2 separate regions of the Homo sapiens genome follow, and region 1 is linked to region 2. The links are contacts of gene promoters, found by promoter capture Hi-C in blood cells and fetal thymus (Javierre and others, 2016). All regions are on one chromosome and are shown on one strand. The core of a region is centred on a gene start or on the middle of the fragment in contact, and the rest is flanking DNA. Distances in the headings are between cores, read along the strand shown. Region 1 overlaps HAO1 (hydroxyacid oxidase 1). Region 2 holds the start of BMP2 (bone morphogenetic protein 2).

Region 1 (5,087 bases), core at 1,512-4,011, 1.1 Mb before region 2:
CTGCTATAAGGAACTGCCCGAGACTAAGTAATTTATAAAGAAAAGAGGTTTACTGGCTCACAGTTCTGTATGGCTGGGGAGGCCTCAGGAAGCTTACAATCATGGTGAAAGGGAAAGCAGGTATGTCTTACATGGTGGCAGGTAAGAGATCCTGTGTGTGAAGTGAAGGGGGAAGAGTCCCTTATAAAACCATCAGATCTCGTGTGAGCTCACTCACTAGCATGAAAACAGCATGGAGGAAATCACCCCTATGATCCAATCACCTCTTTCCCTCAACACATGGGGATTACAGTTCCCTGCCTTGATGCGTGGGATTAAAATTTGAGATAAGATTTGGGTGGGGACACAAAGCCAAACCTTATCAGTTGGTGAGGTGATGAATATGGTCATTAGCTTGTCTAAATTTGTCTGCAATGTATACATAGATCAAAACATCACTTTGTACCCCATAAACATGTGCAATTACTATTTTCCAATTAAAAATAAATATAAATAAATTAAAAATAATTGCAAAGGAAAGCTGGCTGTGGAGAAGATTAACAAATAATGACATTAAGAAATTCAGGTCCTTGGCAAAATTAGAAATACATACAAAGCTATCCAGAACTTATTTTTCCAAATGCATTAGGCGTCCTCTCACCTTACCCTTTACAATTGCATGGCTTCAGAGATTACACAGAAAACGTTCAGAAACATTGCCCCAGTAGATGATCTTGCAATGCTATGAAGTAGGCAGAACAGCTGTGGCTATAGCAATTGTGCAGATAGAACGTACTTCATGGATGGCAAGACTGGGACTCTAGGACAGGCTTTCAATCCATTCTACCCTGTTGTTGTTCTGAAATGAAAGTTTTATCTCCCAGTTTATATAGGTAGCCTTATCTTTGATGCTTCAATACCTGAGACCTGGCCAGTGTCCCTTTTAGTGATTGTATGTGTGTGTGTGTGTGTCATATGCAATTTCCTTATAGCAATGGCACAGTGTATCACTGTTTAATTAAAGAAGAGAAAGAAATGCCAAACATACGAATAAAGTCTGAATATATCTGTAACATTAAAAGTGTAGGTGTCTATCTTTGAAGATATGTCTTAAGGACAATGAAAGAGTCAGTGAGTAAGAGAAGAGAGTCCTGGGATTTCATACAAGATCAGTGTTACTTGATGGTGTAGGCTCCTAGGTATTTCATCTTTAGGATATACCGTCTATTACAAAAGCCAAGATTTTTAGATTTGGATCAACATTAGGGAACTTCATTCTAGGCAAGAGCCAGGTTTTGCCTTTATGTTAATATGACCTCAGCTGTGAGCTCCATTTTGCCAGGCATCTTAAAACTGCAACACATATCATTGGAATCTTCCGTTACAGTCTAATACATAGCCACACATTGGGAGCAAGAATGAAATCCAACCCCTGTCCTTTGCAAAATGCAATGAGACAGTGTCTGCTTTGGGAGCAGGGAGTCAGAATTTCATTGTGGACAATGGATAAGGTGAGTAAAAGGGCTTAAAACATTTGTGCTTTCAAGCCATAGGCTAGGATAACGATAGTCAGAACTTTTTGATGAAGTCTGACCATGCTACGCCATTTATAAAATTTTGAAGCTTGTAAGTATTACCCCAAAATGAGCAGTGTGAACTCAAAGGGTTTATCATTGTCTCTCAGGCAAAGGTAATATTTGAATTATTTAGCAAAGGACTTTGAGCAATTGGAAGAGATACTCAGCTGCTGGTCTCTAGCGCTCTAACAGGGTGGATGCCCCCCGCTCTGCCGGCACTGATGTTTAAGTTGCTGGATTATGAGGAAGTCTGGGGATTCCTTGGGGAGAAAAGGAAGTGATGACATATTGAAGCACAACGACATATTGAAGAGACTCGGGGGCTGGGGTGATAAACTTCAGAGCCGTGGCTATTTACCAATTGGAGTGTAAGTATTTTAATATTTTAACAAACATAATTGCCATTCTGGTATGTACCAACTTCATCTCAGATCTGTCCTTAAGAAATAGGCAAATTCTTTATTGCCTCTCTGAATGGTTCATATAAATTCCCAGGCTCCCTTAGCTCATTCTAACATAAAACTGTATTAAAAATAATGAATGTAATTCATCAATAATTTTCCTTTGTCATAGCAAATAGTCACAAGTGGATTGAGATCAGAGTGATCACTCATATTTGTTCTGGGGAGAAGGGAGCCTGCTGTTTTGCTCCTGTTTTCTCCTAGGACTAGTATTTTAGCTTCAAATGATAATACCTTAGCACAGACTCTGATATTCCTCCTACATGCAGGAGCATTCTCTTGGAATAATTTTGGGGATGCCAATTCAAAATTTCAGCCATGTATGATTTACTTATTGGAAAATAATCACTGAGCAGCAATAACTCCAGCAGTTACTTGTATCAAGGTAGAATCAAGAAATAGATGGTATGGACCAAACTTGCTTCTCTCTAAATATGCATACCCAAGTGATTTGGGTAAAATGTTTGTGAAGGGCTTACATTTCCTGCAAGTCAGATGGTTTAAGAGAAGTAGAAATTATGTGTGTTTTGCAGCATTTTGGTAATCTGTGTGGAGTGTCTGTAGATATTTCTCATGAGTTCAAGGGAATCCTTTTGTGGATTTTGATGTTCCTATTGGCAGAGCTGCTGCTTGACTACATGATGTCTTTGTATTAACTACAAAAACATGCCCTATCATCTGAGTGATTTTCTCTGCCAGACCCCTTTGTGCATCCACACTCTGCACCTCCAGTGTACGGAGGACCTTCCCACTGGATTCTAAGATTCCATGCCTTCCCAATGCATGGCAGTGTCTCTCATGCACATGGCAAACCTACTCTCTTGGATGTCACTGCCCTGAAATATTGAGGGAGTACATTTATCTAGGCATGGTACCAGGGAGTCATTTAGACATGTAGGGAGTCTAGAAAGATCATTGCCCTGGGAGAGTGCTCAGCCATGCTGAGTTCTCCTACTTTGTTGCTCATTTCTGTGTGACCTTAGGTAACATCCTCTTCAGGACTTTTTTTTTTTTTTTTTTTTTGACAGGGAGTCTCATTCTGTCATCCAGGCTGGAGTACAGTGGTGTGATCTCAGCTCACTGCAATCTCCGCCTCCTGGGTTCAAGCAATCCTAGTGCTTCAGTCGCCTGAGTAGCTGGGATTACAGGCATGCGCCACTACGCCCAGCTAATATTTGTATTTTCAGTAGAGATAGGGTTTTATCATGTTGATCAGGCTGGTCTTGAACTCCTGACCTCAAGGGATCTGCCTACCTTGGCCTCCCAAAGTGCTGGGATTACAGATGAGAGCCACCAACCCTGGCCAGGACATAATTTATTTCAGGTGAATTGATTGTTGGAGGATTTTGATCCAAGCAATCAATGTCCCTTGGTGTTCCTTTCAAACAGCAGTAAGTGACCTGAATTTATTTTCCACATTTCCAAATCTTAATGAAAATCAGACAATGGTCTATATGTTCATTTGTGTTCTTACTTAATAAAATGTGGGTTTTAGACAATATTTTGCCAGTCATGAATTCCTATAGAAGGAACTCTTTGGGAGAACAGACTAGTGATCTATAGACATGATGACCTCCAACTCAGATCTTCTGTAGCTAACCACTGACCGGGAGAACATGTATGAAAAACATCTTCAAAGGCATTGAAAAATTAACATTTATCAAAAACAAAATACATTTTATTTCATTTGAACTTAGACCTTTACTATCTAATGGCTATGGTACTATTTAAATGTCAAAGTGTGATCTAGCATCAGCCTAATCTGGTTAGAAATGCAAACTCTTGGGCCACATCTCAGACTTACTGGACCAGAAGCTCTGTGGGTGGGACCCAGAAATCTGTGTTTCATTCACATGCCCTCCAGGGGATTGTCCTGCTAAAGTTTGAGAATCATGGAAGCTTTTTAACCTCTCATTATAGCTTTATAAGCAGCAACTCACTGGATTCCTATCAACATCCTGTGAGTGTCATTTGGACAAGTATATTTATACCCATTTGATGCATGGTAGGCACACAGATGAGTCAAATGACTTGAAGGAATAGAGTTTTACATAATATACTTTTATATATTTATACTTCTAATATATTTATACTTTATAACAGATTTGACTGTTTTATATATTGCATATAAACATTATATCAGTTTCTCCTCCACTAAGGCTGACTCCAATTTTACTCCAATTTTACTACCAATTTTTGGAAGAAAGCCTACCTATCACTCATGTTCTCTCAAGTACCCTCTAAAACTATTAGTTAGATGACTCTATTTAATTTTCCATTTATTTGCCCGTTTCTTGCTACCTTTCCCCCCAAAATGTAACTGCTACCTTGCTCAAAAGGATGTGTCTACTTGGGATATCTAGCACACACATTTTATGAGATTTTAAAAGACAACATAAATGGTAAACTATATATTTAATACAATTTTGAAAGACAAAATTTTAAAATTAAAAAGGAAGAAAAAAATTAAACTAACCCCATAATTCTCCCACCCATCATTAGCATGTAGTTTGTTTAGATTCATCTACCAATAAGTAGAATTGTACAAATTTGATATCATGTAATACATGTCATTTTGTAAACTTTTTTCTTTCCTTAATATATCTATATATCATAAACATTTTTCTATGTCTATATTATTTTAAAATTGTAATACCCAGAGTTCTCCAGAGAAACAGAATTAATAGGATCTCCCCCTTGGAGATTTCTCATCTTTTTCTCTCTCGATAGATACAGATAGATACATACATAAGTCTATCTCTCTATCTCTATCTTTATCTCTAAAACACCTATCCATAGATAGACATTTTTAGGAATTGGCTCATGTGTTTGTGGAAGCTTGCAAGTTCAAATGTGCAGAGTAGGTGGGCAAGCTACCAGGGAAATGTTGATGTTGCAGTTCCAGTCTGAAGGCAGGCTCCTTGCAGAATTCTTCTTTTTCTTAGCAGTCTTACTTCCCCTTCCTCTTCCCCTTCTCCTTCCCCTTTCCCTTCTTCTTCTCCTTCCCCTTCTTCTTATTCTCCTTCACAGACTTATTTTTAAGGCCTTGAGCTGATTAGATAAGACCCAC
Region 2 (4,892 bases), core at 2,191-4,690:
GCCTTGTCTCTACTCAGAGCCTATCTCAGATTTAAGCACAGGACAAGAAAGTCATTGTGGAAACAATAAGATTGATTGTAGTATTGATCTCCCACGGGGATTAGATTGGGATTCAAAATCTTCCAAACCAGGCCCAGATCAACTATAAATTAGAAAGACTTTGGGGCCCTGGGCTTTGATTTTTCAATACTATCTCTGAAAACTCTGCCCTTGGCTCTGTCTACCCTAAAACCCTGGCTTAAGCGGCAGATTTATAGAGCAAAAGCTTCCAAACAGACTTAAAGAAATCTCAATCTGCCTCCCTTTTTCTCCTTTTCCCTCTGTGGAATTCTTGCACGTTTAGCTGACTAGAGGCATGCCTTTTGCCCTCATCTTCCCCATCACTTGATTTCTCTCCAATTCTTCCAGGAGGAGTAGCTCTTCTGGCTGCAAGCCAGGAAGAGGGTGCGGAGTTACTAAAGGGGAATCCCTGGCTCCCCCACCACACAAGCAGTGAGTTAAAATCAGATTCAGAAACGATAGTACAGAAGCAAGAGTGGAAACGTCCGCTGGTGCCCCGGCCAAGCTGCCTCTACAGGGACGGCTGCAGTCTGCCCACGGTGGAGGGCTTTGCAGGGTGACTCCCCGCCCCCACGCCCTGCTCCATGCCTCACCTTCATGGTGGAAGCTGCGCACAGTGTTGGCTCGGCTGGCTGCCCTCTCCAACCGGTGGTCTGGGGCGGGTGAGCCCGGCTGACCTGAGTGCCTGCGATACAGGTCTAGCATGTAGGGGGGCACCACGGCGTCCCTGCTGGGGGTGGGTCTCTGTTTCAGGCCGAACATGCTGAGCAGCCGCAACTCGAACTCGCTCAGGACCTCGTCAGAGGGCTGGGATGAGGGGCGGCCCGACGACGCCGCCGCGAACTTCCTGCGGCCCAGCTCCGGAACGAGGCCAGCCGCGCCGCCCAGGAGGACCTGGGGAAGCAGCAACGCTAGAAGACAGCGGGTCCCGGCCACCATGGTCGACCTGCGGACAGGACCGACGTGAGTCACCCGAGTTCCCCGCCCAGTCCTCCCCCCTCGCGCCCCCGCGGCCCGGTCTCCCATTTGGCTGGCGTGCCTCCTCCAGGATGCCCTCCTGGCTTGGCACACTCACGAGTCTAGGTAAGACCGACCGAAGCTCAAACGTTTGGGATAATGAAGGGTCCCAAGTTCCTGAACCAGATGATTTATCGCTCCCATCCAACGCTTAGCTCGTCTGACATCAGATTTGGGATTTGCCCTCCCCCCCAACCAAACCAGCGCCAATGACTGTCACTTTTTTGTGTGTGACACAGCGCTGACAGCCAATGCCGGGAACCTGGGAAAACCACCGCTTGATCTGACACCCTGCGTCCCCTATACAAACCCAAATGCGGAGTGCTGAGCGCTGTCTGGCATATAAACACACATAAATGGTGCATGTGACTTCCTTAGAGGCACTGTATAGAACTTCCTGACACACACACACACACACACACACACACACACACACCCTTATAGCTTCCAGACCCTGTAAGCTCAAGGCCACAACTTCTGAAGCCACTTATGACTTGTGTCCCAGGCCCCTACCCTCAGGGGTGTCTCGAAAGGCAGCTCCATCCCGCATCCCCACAGTGCAGTCAAGATACACATGTATCTTCCCGGGATTACGTAAATGGTGAATATCTATTAATGCACGTGTCAGCTGTTAAAAACACAGTACCAAGTGATCCTTCAGTACTGACCCCTCGCATTTCTGGAAACAAGTAGGGAGAACCCCAAACTCCTAGTACTTTCCTAAATGGGACACGGCTCTGAGCAAAGAAACCAAGTCTCCCGGAAACACTTGAAGAATGGAGATCACCATGGCAGAGCGGACAGGTTCTCAGCTAACGGGTGAAACCCAGGGGCTACCCTCTCAAAGGGATTTCTTTGACCCAAAAAAGTTTTTAAAAAAATTAAAAATAAATAAATAAATAAATAAAACACCTCATCTAAGTGTTAACAGCTCCAAAAGTATTCCAGGGAGAGGGGAAGAAAGAGGGGTGGAAGAGTGCGGGCCGGGAGGGTGAGGCTTACGGTCGCCCGGGGCAGCTGGAAGTGGGAGCCCCTGCAGGGCTCCGTTGCACGTGGACTGGAGAGGGGTCTGTTTACTTCTGGCCTGGACGTAAGGAAGGGCTCTACCGCAGTGGCTGCCCAAATCCCCCTCCCACCCACCACCCACCCCGGGCCCTGGCCCGCGTCCTCTACCTTTAGGAGACCGCAGTCCGTCTAAGAAGCACGCGGGGACACGTCCATTGAAAGAGCGTCCACATGGAAAAACTCTGGTCAAAGGACCTGGCGCAAGGACCGAATGTCCGTTCCTTTTCTTTGCCTCCTCCTTCTCCCGGGTGCCGGCCGCGCAGTCTCTCTTTTCACGCTGGGAACAGCGTCTCAGTGTCGGGCAAGGCCGAGGAGTGGAGGGGCGGTGGGGCTCGGAGATGGCGAAGCAGGCTCCGCTGGGGCAAAGGCACCGGCGCAAAGTGGGGTGCGCAAGTTATTCTCCCTGCAAGTTCAAGAAGTCCCCAGCCAAGTGCTGACACACAACAACAGCGAGCAGGGGGAGGAGTGCGGGGCAGGGAAGGGAAGGGAGAAAGGAGAAGCTGGTGCTGTCGTCCTCCTTAGGAACCAGCGCCCGAGGGACGCGTGGCCCCGCGCGGGGCCGGCTCCGGGACTCGGGGGTCGAGGGTCGGGCGCTCCGCGCTAGCTCCGCCGCGGCCCATGGCTCGGGGCAGCCATCCTGGGCGACGCCGGGTCCAGGGAAGGGCACGGCGGCGATCTCGGTGCCAGGCGAGTTGCCCCCCCGCATCACTCTGCCTTACTCCAGTGCACCCCCATTCGCGCTCGCCAGTTGAAAGCACCGCGGCTCTGGCGCCCCGTCGTCCTCGGGCGCATTCTCCGGCGAGTCGAGCCGAGTCCCGGGCCGCCGAGGCGGGTGGCTGTGCTCTCCCCTCGCTCTCCTAGCCCTGGGGCCAAGTGCCCTTTGTGGCTAGCCTGGGGTCCGATCACACCTCGGCCAGCGCGTCCCAGGCCCCCGATCTCCTGCAGTAGGTGCTCCGCATCGCGGCGCTAGGGATCGGCTCCGGAGTCCCCGGCGCTCTGCGCGCCCGTCCGCGGCTCTGGCGCAGCCCGGGCAGCAGAGGCCACGGCGCTGTGGCGCGCTCTGCCGGGTGCTCCAGCCCGCGCGGGGTCTGCGGCGCGCGGGTGCCTCGCGGTCCCCGGTGATCCACTCGGCGCTGGCCCCGAGAACGTTCGGGTAGCCGGCGGAGGCTGTGGCGGCAGATGTGCGGCGGCGGCTGCCAGTCCCCGGCGGGGTGTGGGAAGCGGAGCGACTAGCGCAGCGCGAGCCGGGCGCAGCGCGGCGGGGCGAGGACTCCGGCGGCGGCGACGGCGGCGGCGGCGCCGTGGCGCGGCGCTCGCGGCTTTTAAAGGGGACGCCGCCTGCCGGCTCCCTCCCGGCCGCGGCCGAACACCTCCCCCTTCGCGGCGCGGCTCGCCGGGGATCCCCGAGCGGGCGGGAGCTGCGCGCAGGGGTGTGGACGGCGCGCCCGGGCAGCCGCGGCGGGGTGGGGCGGAGGGCGGGGGCGCGCGGCCGCCAAGGGGGGCGCTCGCGCCTCCACTCCCTGCTCTCAAAGGAGAGATCAGCTGGCGCGCCGGACCCTCGCGGGGACTCTGGAGGCGAAATCCAGGACAAATGCAGGGTCAGGGTCTGGCCTCTTATTTCCCCGCTGGGCCCGTTATTCAACTTTCAGTTTGAAGTTTTTCGGTAATATACGATTTCAAAAAACAAAACAAAACAAAACACCTCAATTACAGCGTATTTTGGCATAGCATAGACGTGGGATCCACGCTTCTGTTTCCCCGGAATAGGAGGAAAATTAAAAGAAAACAGCAGGCTGGAAATTGAGTGTTTTTAAACATTAATACATAGAGATGTATGTATTTACATATGTAAATGCATGTGTACAAATTTTTTTACATAAATGTGTATGCATTTATTTTCATATCCATACGCATGTAAATTTATAGTTACATAAATATATCCAATATACAAAAATATGTGCATATATTTCTATAAATATATTCATGTATGAGAATATATGCAACCGAAGGGCCACATTTCGGTTAATATGTCTATGTATGTGACATGGATGTCATCCTGCTTTACGTGACATGTGTGTAACGTAGACTGCGTGTGTGGCAGACTGAAGGATGGATGGGAGGGATTTGATTTTTTTATTGTACAATCACTTTGTGCCTTGTGATATTTATCTCACCCAGCTCAGAGGCAGGCGATTAGCAGCTCAGAGGAAGGTAAAATAACGCACTGTGTGAACCAAGCATACAGGACAATTCCAGTTTGGGACCTTGGAACCTTCTACGCCACCCTCTTCCACCAGGCCCCCAAGAAGTAGGGCTGTGACACGTGGCCAAGTCACTCCTCAGCTGAATATTCACTGAAGTCACTCCTCAGCCGAAATACTGCTCAGAGCTGCTGCACGATGAGTCTGGGGCCAAGGCTTTCTGCCCTTCCCAGGATTCCAGGAGCCCCCATGCACAGCACCTCGGGCTTGCCCAAATGATCCCCAAAACCAAGGGCAGAAAATTTTTGGAAAAGGCCAAGTTCTGCTTTCCCAGAGCTATCGGGCCTGCGAAACAGAGAGAAAAAAGTCAGAAGCAGGAGCTGGTAATAGAACTATTATCCATGTGTATTATTTTTTCGGTAGGGGAGCTAAAATAATACTAGGTTCCGCTCACGTAAATCGGATTAGCAACCCACAGAGGCGAATTAGGCACTTGCTGTTTCTAAAGGTATAAAGGTCAAATAAGGTATTTTGGAGGAAGCCTGACTA

The links. The method cuts DNA at HindIII sites, captures the fragments that hold promoters and counts their contacts. A CHiCAGO score of 5 or more calls a contact.
Region 1: a contact is called between a fragment that was not itself captured here and the fragment with the promoter of BMP2 in region 2, in 1 of 17 cell types (endothelial precursors). The highest score is 5.0, in endothelial precursors.

The regions. Positions count from the first base shown.
Region 1 is chr20:7,915,293-7,920,379 of GRCh38, reverse strand. The region is part of intron 2 of HAO1 (hydroxyacid oxidase 1); the gene reads left to right. Among named protein-coding and RNA genes, the nearest start is that of HAO1, 23 kb to the left of the region's middle. The HindIII fragment of the contact is 2,314 bases long and covers 1,605-3,918 here.
Region 2 is chr20:6,766,234-6,771,125 of GRCh38, reverse strand. It overlaps BMP2 (bone morphogenetic protein 2), which reads right to left and starts at 3,440. Exons shown (of 3, transcript NM_001200.4): 1 at 2,251-3,440; 2 at 654-1,006. The coding sequence starts at 999. LOC105372517 (a long non-coding RNA gene) reads left to right here and starts at 3,642. Exons shown (of 4, transcript XR_937229.2): 1 at 3,642-3,805; 2 at 4,321-4,726. RefSeq lists cis regulatory regions at 2,761-2,935, 3,576-3,675, 3,682-4,472, silencers at 3,307-3,356, 3,447-3,496 and promoters at 2,386-3,545, 2,935-3,576, 2,386-4,892. The HindIII fragment of the contact is 17,330 bases long and covers 268-4,892 here.